Linked DNA regions of Homo sapiens: region 1 is linked to region 2. The links are contacts of gene promoters, found by promoter capture Hi-C in human tissues and cell types (Jung and others, 2019). All regions are on one chromosome and are shown on one strand. Each heading gives the region's core, a stretch centred on a gene start or on the middle of the fragment in contact. The rest is flanking DNA. Distances are from core to core; before and after follow the strand shown.

Region 1 (4,034 bases), core at 461-2,960, 46 kb before region 2:
GGCGGGTGGATCACAAGGTCAGGAGATCGGGACCATTCTGGCTAACACGGTGAAACCCCGTCTCTACTAAAAATACAAAAATTAGCCAGGCGTGGTGGCGGGCACCTATAGTCCCAGCTACTTGGGAGGCTGAGGCAGAAGAATGGCATGGACCCGGGAGACAGAGCTTGCAGTGAGCCGAGATGGCGCCACTGGACTCCAGCCTGGACGACAGAGCAAGACTCTGTCTCTCCAAAAAAAAAAAAAAAAAAAAAAAAAGGATTTGGGCGTTGGGGGAAGAATAAGCTTACTTCTTTCTTTCTTTTTTTTCTTTCTTTCTTTCTTTTTTTTTCTTGAGCCAGAGTCTCGCTCTGTTGCCAGGCTGGAGTGCAGTGGTGTGATCTCAGCTCACTGCAACCTCTGACTCTCTGGTTCAAGCGATTCTCCTGCCTCAGCCTCCAGAGTATCCGGGACTACAGGCATGCGCCACCACGCCCAGCTAATTTTTGTATTTTTAGTAGAGATGGGGTTTCACCATCTTGGCCAGGATGGTTCTTGATTTCCTAACCTCGTGCTCCGCCTGCCTCAGCCTCCCAAAATGCTGGGATTACAGGCCTGAGCCACCACGCCCGGCCGATTGAGCTCATTTCTATACATGCCTGGAAGAATGCCTGGTGCTCCAAGATACAAAGAGGGCTGGCTCCTTGTATCATTAGCTGGGTGATGTTTTTGCAACTTGCTTGAAGTTACTGCAAGAATTAAAAATAAAGCAGACAGAACAGTTTGATTTGGTGTGTACTTCTACTCTTAATAAATGGTATGAATTGTTACTAGCTTGGTAGCTATTGGGGGAATGGAGTTGGCTATGTTTCTAGAAACATGTACTATGGATAGGAAAGAATGTTTTTGCTTTCTTTCATCCCTCTAATTTGGGGATGGGAATGTGAAACACTGCAACAATGCAAAGGAGAAGGGAATAGAAAAGTTGTCCATTTATTTTGCTGGATAATAACTGACCAAGTTCCATGGGAGGGTAGCTCATGCATTCTTGAAGCGTAGGTCTGTGTGTAATAACATGCATATATCATGGTGTGGTCATAGCCAGAACACACTCAAAGCAAGGCTTTCAATGGGGTTTCCCTTGCCTGAGCCTGCCCCTTCATCTAGGATACAGAGATTGAAACTTCCTCCCACTTGTAGACCAAAGTTGGTATTTGTAAAGTGCTCTGAGATCTTCCCAAATAGGGCCTCCTTAAATAAAAGGTCTCCAGGGGTGCAGGAGTGGAAGAGACAGGGCTTGGAGGGCTTAGGAGTCCAGGGGCAGTGTGTATGCTCAGGAGAGCAGCCAATCCCATCTGCCCACAACTAGGATTCTTCTCAGCGCATCACTGGGGGCTCTCCCAGGGCAGTCGGCCTTCCTTTCTTGGATGTGCAAAGCGACTTAGTTGGGATTTAAGACAAAAGTAGACCTAGAACAGTTGACACCTGGAGTGGAGAGTTTTTAACACCCTCCCCATACATCAAAATTATTTTTATAGTGATAATCATGCAATCATTAGCAATCATTATTTTCTTGAGTCAGTCTGTAGTTTCTTCATTTTTAAAAAATTGACCAGTTGAACAATCTCTAGTTTCAAAACACAATTGAAAGAAAGAGTACTTTTTCATTTGAATATTATTCAAATTTAGGAACGCATCACATATGAACTAAATTTGCAGTTTGCCAGTAAAAAATTGACCTCATGATTCTCTGCCTGTTTTGGTTTTAAAGTTTAAATACAAATTTAAAATTTTTTATCACATAAAATGACAAAAGTAAGATAACCCAAGGTCTACTCCTTTCATCATTACAATCACAGTTATTATGGTTTGTTTTGAATTTACTATTTAGATGTAGGGGTTGGAGACAGTTGTCGCTCAAGGTGCAAACTCCGGGCTGGCGCTGTGTGTGAACAGATAACAACAAAATGTATGTGGCTGAGTCCACTAGGAAGACGCTTCTGTACCACATGGAGTTCTCTGAATTAACTTCCAGATATATTAAAATTATTAATGGTAAGTAAGAAATGTATCAAATTGAAGCTTACATACATATTGCTAAGATGCCATCATGTCTGCAGAGATTATTTGGAACTTTGAACAACAAAAGATTTTTTTTTTTTTTTGCAGAACAGTATTTTATCACTGATGTTATTTAGAGTTGCTAGCACTTGGTGATATCACAAGCGAACTGACTTTTAGTCAGCTGTGTTATTGTGTTTAAATTCTCTACAAACATCCCTCATTGCCTGCCTCAGGGGCAGGCGGCCCCTGCAGCTCTGTCTTGTGTATGCAGCTGATTTAAAGCCATGGCAACATCACAGTTAACACTATCTATGCACCTGTAAGAAGTGTTTAATTAAAACTAACAGTCTTGAAGTTGAGCGTCTTTATTTTAGGTGTAGGACCTCTCAGGGGTGAAGAGGAAAGCAAATGGAGAGTCTGCCAAGTCTTTTTGCTGACACCAGTGCTTAGGATCTTGAGAGCATGTTTTACAAATTGGGTGTTTGGGGCAGGGGGAGTCTGGACAACAGTTTTTCCAAGTTTCAGGCTAGTGTTTGGCACCCTCTAGTGGAAAATTTGAAAAGAGAATGATCCGATACTGTATAAAAAATGAATAGTTTATCATATAGCTTATTCATCCTTTATTAAGTACCATGCACTGAGCTAAGTCCTTTGTGTGCAATATCTAATCCTTACAACTACCTATACATTAGGAATATGAGGTCAGCGTTACTAATTATAGAATAAGCTCAGAGAGGTCAAGTAAATTGACCACAGCCACACAGCAAGGGGTGGAGCTGCTTGTCTTTCCTCTCTCCAGAGACATATGGAGTGAGCATACTTGGCATATGTAGCACAATATTTCAAGCTCCTGACCCCCATGGACACACTACCAGCTCCACACCTCAGAGCCTGGGGGCTCGAGGAGTGCCCACCCTGAACCATACTTCCAGAATTATAGTTACTTGCACAATTCTGATTGTAAGATCTAAAAGTAATTTTTTTTTTATTTTTCCCTTAAAGCTTGTGATTTGCCCTCAAAAGTAAATGCCTTGGCTTGGTTTGCCATATTTCCTTCTTAGATTCATGTTCCTTTGTGTCTTATGTTCTGGTCAGGTCACGGCAATGGCCTGCGATAGTAACTCCCAGACTTTAAATCTCATTGGCAATCTCCTTTACCTGTGACACCCCAGAGATCTTAGAATCGAAGTGAGCTCGTTCTGGGAGTGCTTTGGGAGTTATCCAATTTAGTGGTTTGTCATCATGGATCTCTTGAAAATCTTTGAAGGAAGTTTTGGTTGCCATGATGATTGGAGGGCACTAGTGATGTTTAGTCGGGAGGACACTGGATATCCTGCAATGCTCAGGACAGGTCACACAAGGAGAAATTGACCCAGGACTGGTAAGACTTTCCATCATCCTACCGGACATGCTGAGACAGAAGGCAGGCTTCAACTTGTGGTGGGATTTCAAGTTCAGAGACACATTTGCTGTGATGTGTCATTATTACTGCCACATCCCATGTCGTAACAGCAGCCCCTTTGGGGTAAGCAACGTGTGTTCATCCATTCTCACACTGCTATAAAGAACTACCTGAGACTGGTAATTTACGAAGAAAACAGGTTTAATTGACTCACAGTTCTGCAGACTTAACAGGAAGCGTGGGTAGGAGGCCTCAGGAAACTTATAATCATGGTGGAAGGTGAAGGGGAAGCAAACAAGTCTTTTAAACCATCAGATCTTGTGAGAACTCACTATGGTGAGAACAGCAAGGGGGAAACCCACCCCCACGATCCAATCACCTCCCATCAGGTTCCTACCCAAACATGTGGGGATTACAATTTGACATGAGACTTAGTGGGGATACAGAGCCAAACCATATCACAAGGCCCAAGTGTCAAAGCATGAGAATTCAGAAAGTAAAAGACATGGTTAATATACTGCCCAAGTATTCACATACCGAAATACATATTACTGTATTATAACTTACTTTTACTTCAACTTCTGATTGA
Region 2 (3,837 bases), core at 401-2,900:
CTCTGCCCAGCAACTTTTCAGAAAAGTCACTGTTGTTATTTCTATTATATCAAGGTGAAAACTGAGATTTGAAGAGGTAATCTTGCTCACATTATTCATGTTACTATTTTAGTGAAATTGGGGTTCATACCTGGGCAATCCTACTCTATATTTATGCCATGTAAGGTGTTATTCATTCAAATTCAGCAAAGAAACAGAATCCCATCTATATGCAGAAATAATCTTTACCTGCTGGCCTTAAGTTTTACTACCATAGGGAGTATGAGGCTTACATATGAGTATGAGTTTTACATACCATAGGGAGTATGAGGCTTAAATCATAGCATGAAATACATGGATACAGTTATATGGCTGGTTTCTAAAAGTTGATTTTGGAATCACTCCCCTCTTCCCAATGTATGGGAGTAAAAATTCACTATTAGTAATTTTTCTAAAGTCTTCAGAGATTTCACACTGGCATATATACTCATGAAAAGCTGTGTCCTAAAATGTAGTATCCCCATCTACCCTGCCACTCCCAAAACTCATAGGTGCCATAGTATTCAATAGTATCAAAGTAACTATTGAAGTTGTCAAACGCACCTTTCTGCCATAGAACCTCCAGCCATATAAATATTACCTAATTTGTACTCTTAACATTCTAAAGACAGTTATTGGCATTATTAGAAGACTTTAGTGAATGGAGAAGTAGACAGAATCACAAAAATGAGTTCAAAAATCTAGGGAAGTCAATGAGAAAATTCAGGGATTTTTTTCCCCCTCATTCTTTTTTTTAACTGTAAAATGTTCATTTCATCTGATCAGGAACAACTGTAACCATGTAGCTTGCCCTATTTTGGCTATCTGGCTTCAAAAATACTTTCACTGGAAGATCATTGTAATTCAAATCCATTCAGTGCTGTTTCACTTTTGTAATTTGTTAGCTAAGTTTAAGTAGTGTATCCTGCACCTACTTTAATGATATAGCACATTGATAACATTTTTTTCCTTATTTAAAGCAATGTTTACCCACAGCGCCTTAGCACCAAAAAAATTCTAAAAGGCACTCCTTACACATTTAAATAACCTGAACAAATAATTGATACAGGTTAAGCCCTGGCTAGTTCTGCATTTTCCAAATTAAGATCACAGAATTTAAAAATTGCATATTAAAAAAAAAGTTGGTAGAATATATTTCCATAGGGCAGAAAATATATTCAAGGTCACAATATGCCCATTCATTCCTTGCTCCAACATGTAAGACCCAACCAGGCTGATTTCCAATTGAATTTTGCCTGAAGCTTTTTTAAGGTAATGATGGAAACTTTATTACAAAAGGTGGTTAAGTTGTCAGTGACAGGAAAATCAGGAGGTCAACAGAGGTAAGAGGAGAGGTGTCTAAATGGAAGTGAGAATCAGTAACTTGATTGTGAAAATCTGACTTATGTAATTTTTAAAGACCCTCAAAATAAGAGAAGAATAAGAGAAATTTAAAAGAAAATAGAAACAGCCAAAGAGGTGAGACATAGACATTTTGATTGGGGGGGGGTGTTGTCTAACTACACAATGAGGTCATCCCATCTCCCGGAAGTGACACGTAATCACCTGCTTTGCACTAGCTCCGCCCCTTCCCTCAGAGGTCCCGCCCCTCCACCAGCAGCCGGGAGGGTGTTAGGGGGCGTTTCTCCAGGAGGAAAGCTGTGAGCTGCGACGCTGAGGAAGGGGACCCCAAAACGTCTGGCACTGCCCCCTCCAGGGATCACTTTGGACCGCCTCACTCGGGCCAGCCGGATTCTGAAACGCCGAGGGGTCAACCTGATGGGTTTCGGGGTCAACGGAAGAGGGGAAGGGGAGCCCTGGCGGGGAGAACCCCCCGGTCCCCCGCCCAGCAGCTGAGGCACAGGAGGGCGGCCATCTTGGCCGGGAGGGTAGGGCTGGGGAGCTGCGGGCGCCGTGCGATTGGGGGGCTCGCCCGGAAGTGACGCCAACTACCCGGAAGCGGAGGGGGTTCCCTGGCCCACTCCCCCCTCGTTCGTTTGCTCCCCCGCTTCCTCCCCGCCCCCCTTCCTCTCCATTCGTTTCCCCCCCTCCCCGTTCCCTGCCTTCTTCCCCCCCCCCCCGCCGTCCCTCCCCCCCAACCTCCGGAGCTGGGAAGAGAGTCAAGATGGCGGCGAAATCCGATGGCGGTGGCGTGGGGGTGGGCTTCGCTCAGCTGCACAACCTGGACGAGGCGGTGGGCAGCGGCGGCGAGGAGGACGGGGAGCCCGGGGGAGGCGGCTGCGGCGGCGGCGGCGACGGCAGCGAGCCCGGCGAGAGCAGCTCGATGCACATCTGCCACTGCTGCAACACCTCCTCGTGCTACTGGGGCTGCCGCTCCGCCTGCCTGCGCTCCCTCCTGGGCAGGAAGCCGCGCCGCAGCGCCGCCGCCGACGGGGGGGACCAGCCGCTGCAGCCTCCCGCGGCCCCCGGCGCCGGCCGCCAACCCCCGACGCCCTCGGCCGCGCGGCCGGAGCCGCCGCCGCCGCAGGTGGAGCGGCCGTGGCTCGACTGCCTGTGGATCGTGCTGGCGCTGCTGGTGTTCTTCGGGGACGTGGGCACCGACCTGTGGCTGGCCCTCGACTACTACCGCAAGGGGGACTACGTCTACTTCGGGCTGACCCTCTTCTTCGTGCTGGTGCCGTCGCTGCTGGTGCAGAGCCTGAGCTTCCGCTGGTTCGTGCAGGACTACACGGGCGGCGGGCTGGGCGCCGTGGAGGGGCTCACCAGCCGGGGCCCCCCCATGATGGGGGCCGGCTACGTCCACGGCGCGGCCCGCGGTGGCCCAGGCGTGAGGGTCTCCCCCACGCCGGGGGCGCAGCGCCTGTGTCGCCTCTCCGTGTGGATCTGGCAGTCGGTCATCCACCTGCTGCAGATGGGGCAGGTGTGGAGGTAAGAGCACTGCGGGGTGGGGGCGGGCCGGCCCTGAGGAGCCCCCCTCCGCCCTCCCGGTGCTTCGCGGGGCGGCCCCTCGAAAGGGCCCAGCGCGGGGGGCTCGAAGGAGGGACCGGCCGCGCGCCGCCCCTGGCGTCTCCAAAAGACCGGCGTTTGATCTGGATCCCTGGCCACGCCTTTGGCCCGGGGAGGCCGAGACCTGCCGTTGGCCCGTCCTCGTCCCCGCTTCGCACTCGGCGGGGCTCTTGCCCCAACCTGCCCTCCCCGTCCCCTCTGCAGAGCTCCGTTCCCAAGCGTCCCTTTTCCCTGCCTCCCGAGGTAACCAGCTGCGGGCGCCCTGGGCTGCACCCCAGCTCGCGGCCCCGGGGAGCCTTCCCTCCTCCAGCCGCTGCATTCGGGTTTGTTCCCAGGTGAGACATCCTCCCCTCTTCCCCCGTTCTCCCTCTGCAGTGGCCTGCGTGGGGCCCTGTGGAAAAACCCTTGCTGCCGCCTCCGAGCACTCCTGGATTCCACGCCCCTTCCCCCTCCTGCACTCCCAGCCCCTGTGAATGACTCCAAACCACTGCTTTCCCAGAAGGAAAAAAGACTTTTTTTTTTTTTGGTTTGCTGGATTAGACGTGTCCTTTTCTTAGCGACAGGTAAAAATGGGATAAAATGTGATGGGCGCGAGCGTTTGGTGTTAACTCTCACCTCCAGAAAATCAGTTAAAGCCACCTGGATACCTATTCTGGGGAAACGATGTTTTTGGTAGCCAGGCCAGTGTGTAAGTGATTTATATTTACACAAGACGCAAGCTTGGCTTTGCGGCCCTTTCTCGTTTTGTAAATTTCCCGTGTCCCAGTTCAGTCCCTCACAAACCACTTGCAGGTGTTCTTTCTGCCGTGGCCTTCACTGACTGCCTCACTGGCTAAACTGAGGAAATGAACC

What was found. Contacts are between HindIII fragments. The study calls those that stand out against the background at their distance.
Region 1: a contact is called between a fragment that was not itself captured here and the fragment with the promoter of XKR6 in region 2, in 1 of the 25 tissues and cell types used here (mesendoderm cells).

What each region holds. Positions count from the first base shown.
Region 1 is chr8:11,245,626-11,249,659 of GRCh38, reverse strand. It overlaps LINC00529 (long intergenic non-protein coding RNA 529), which reads left to right. Exons shown (of 5, transcript NR_170283.1): 5 at 1,871-2,396. Among named protein-coding and RNA genes, the nearest start is that of LINC00529, 36 kb to the left of the region's middle. The HindIII fragment of the contact is 4,309 bases long and covers 1-3,864 here.
Region 2 is chr8:11,199,646-11,203,482 of GRCh38, reverse strand. It overlaps XKR6 (XK related 6), which reads left to right and starts at 1,650. Exons shown (of 3, transcript NM_173683.4): 1 at 1,650-2,907. The coding sequence starts at 2,144. RefSeq lists silencers at 1,887-2,056, 2,137-2,496, 2,697-3,166. The HindIII fragment of the contact is 3,836 bases long and covers 31-3,837 here.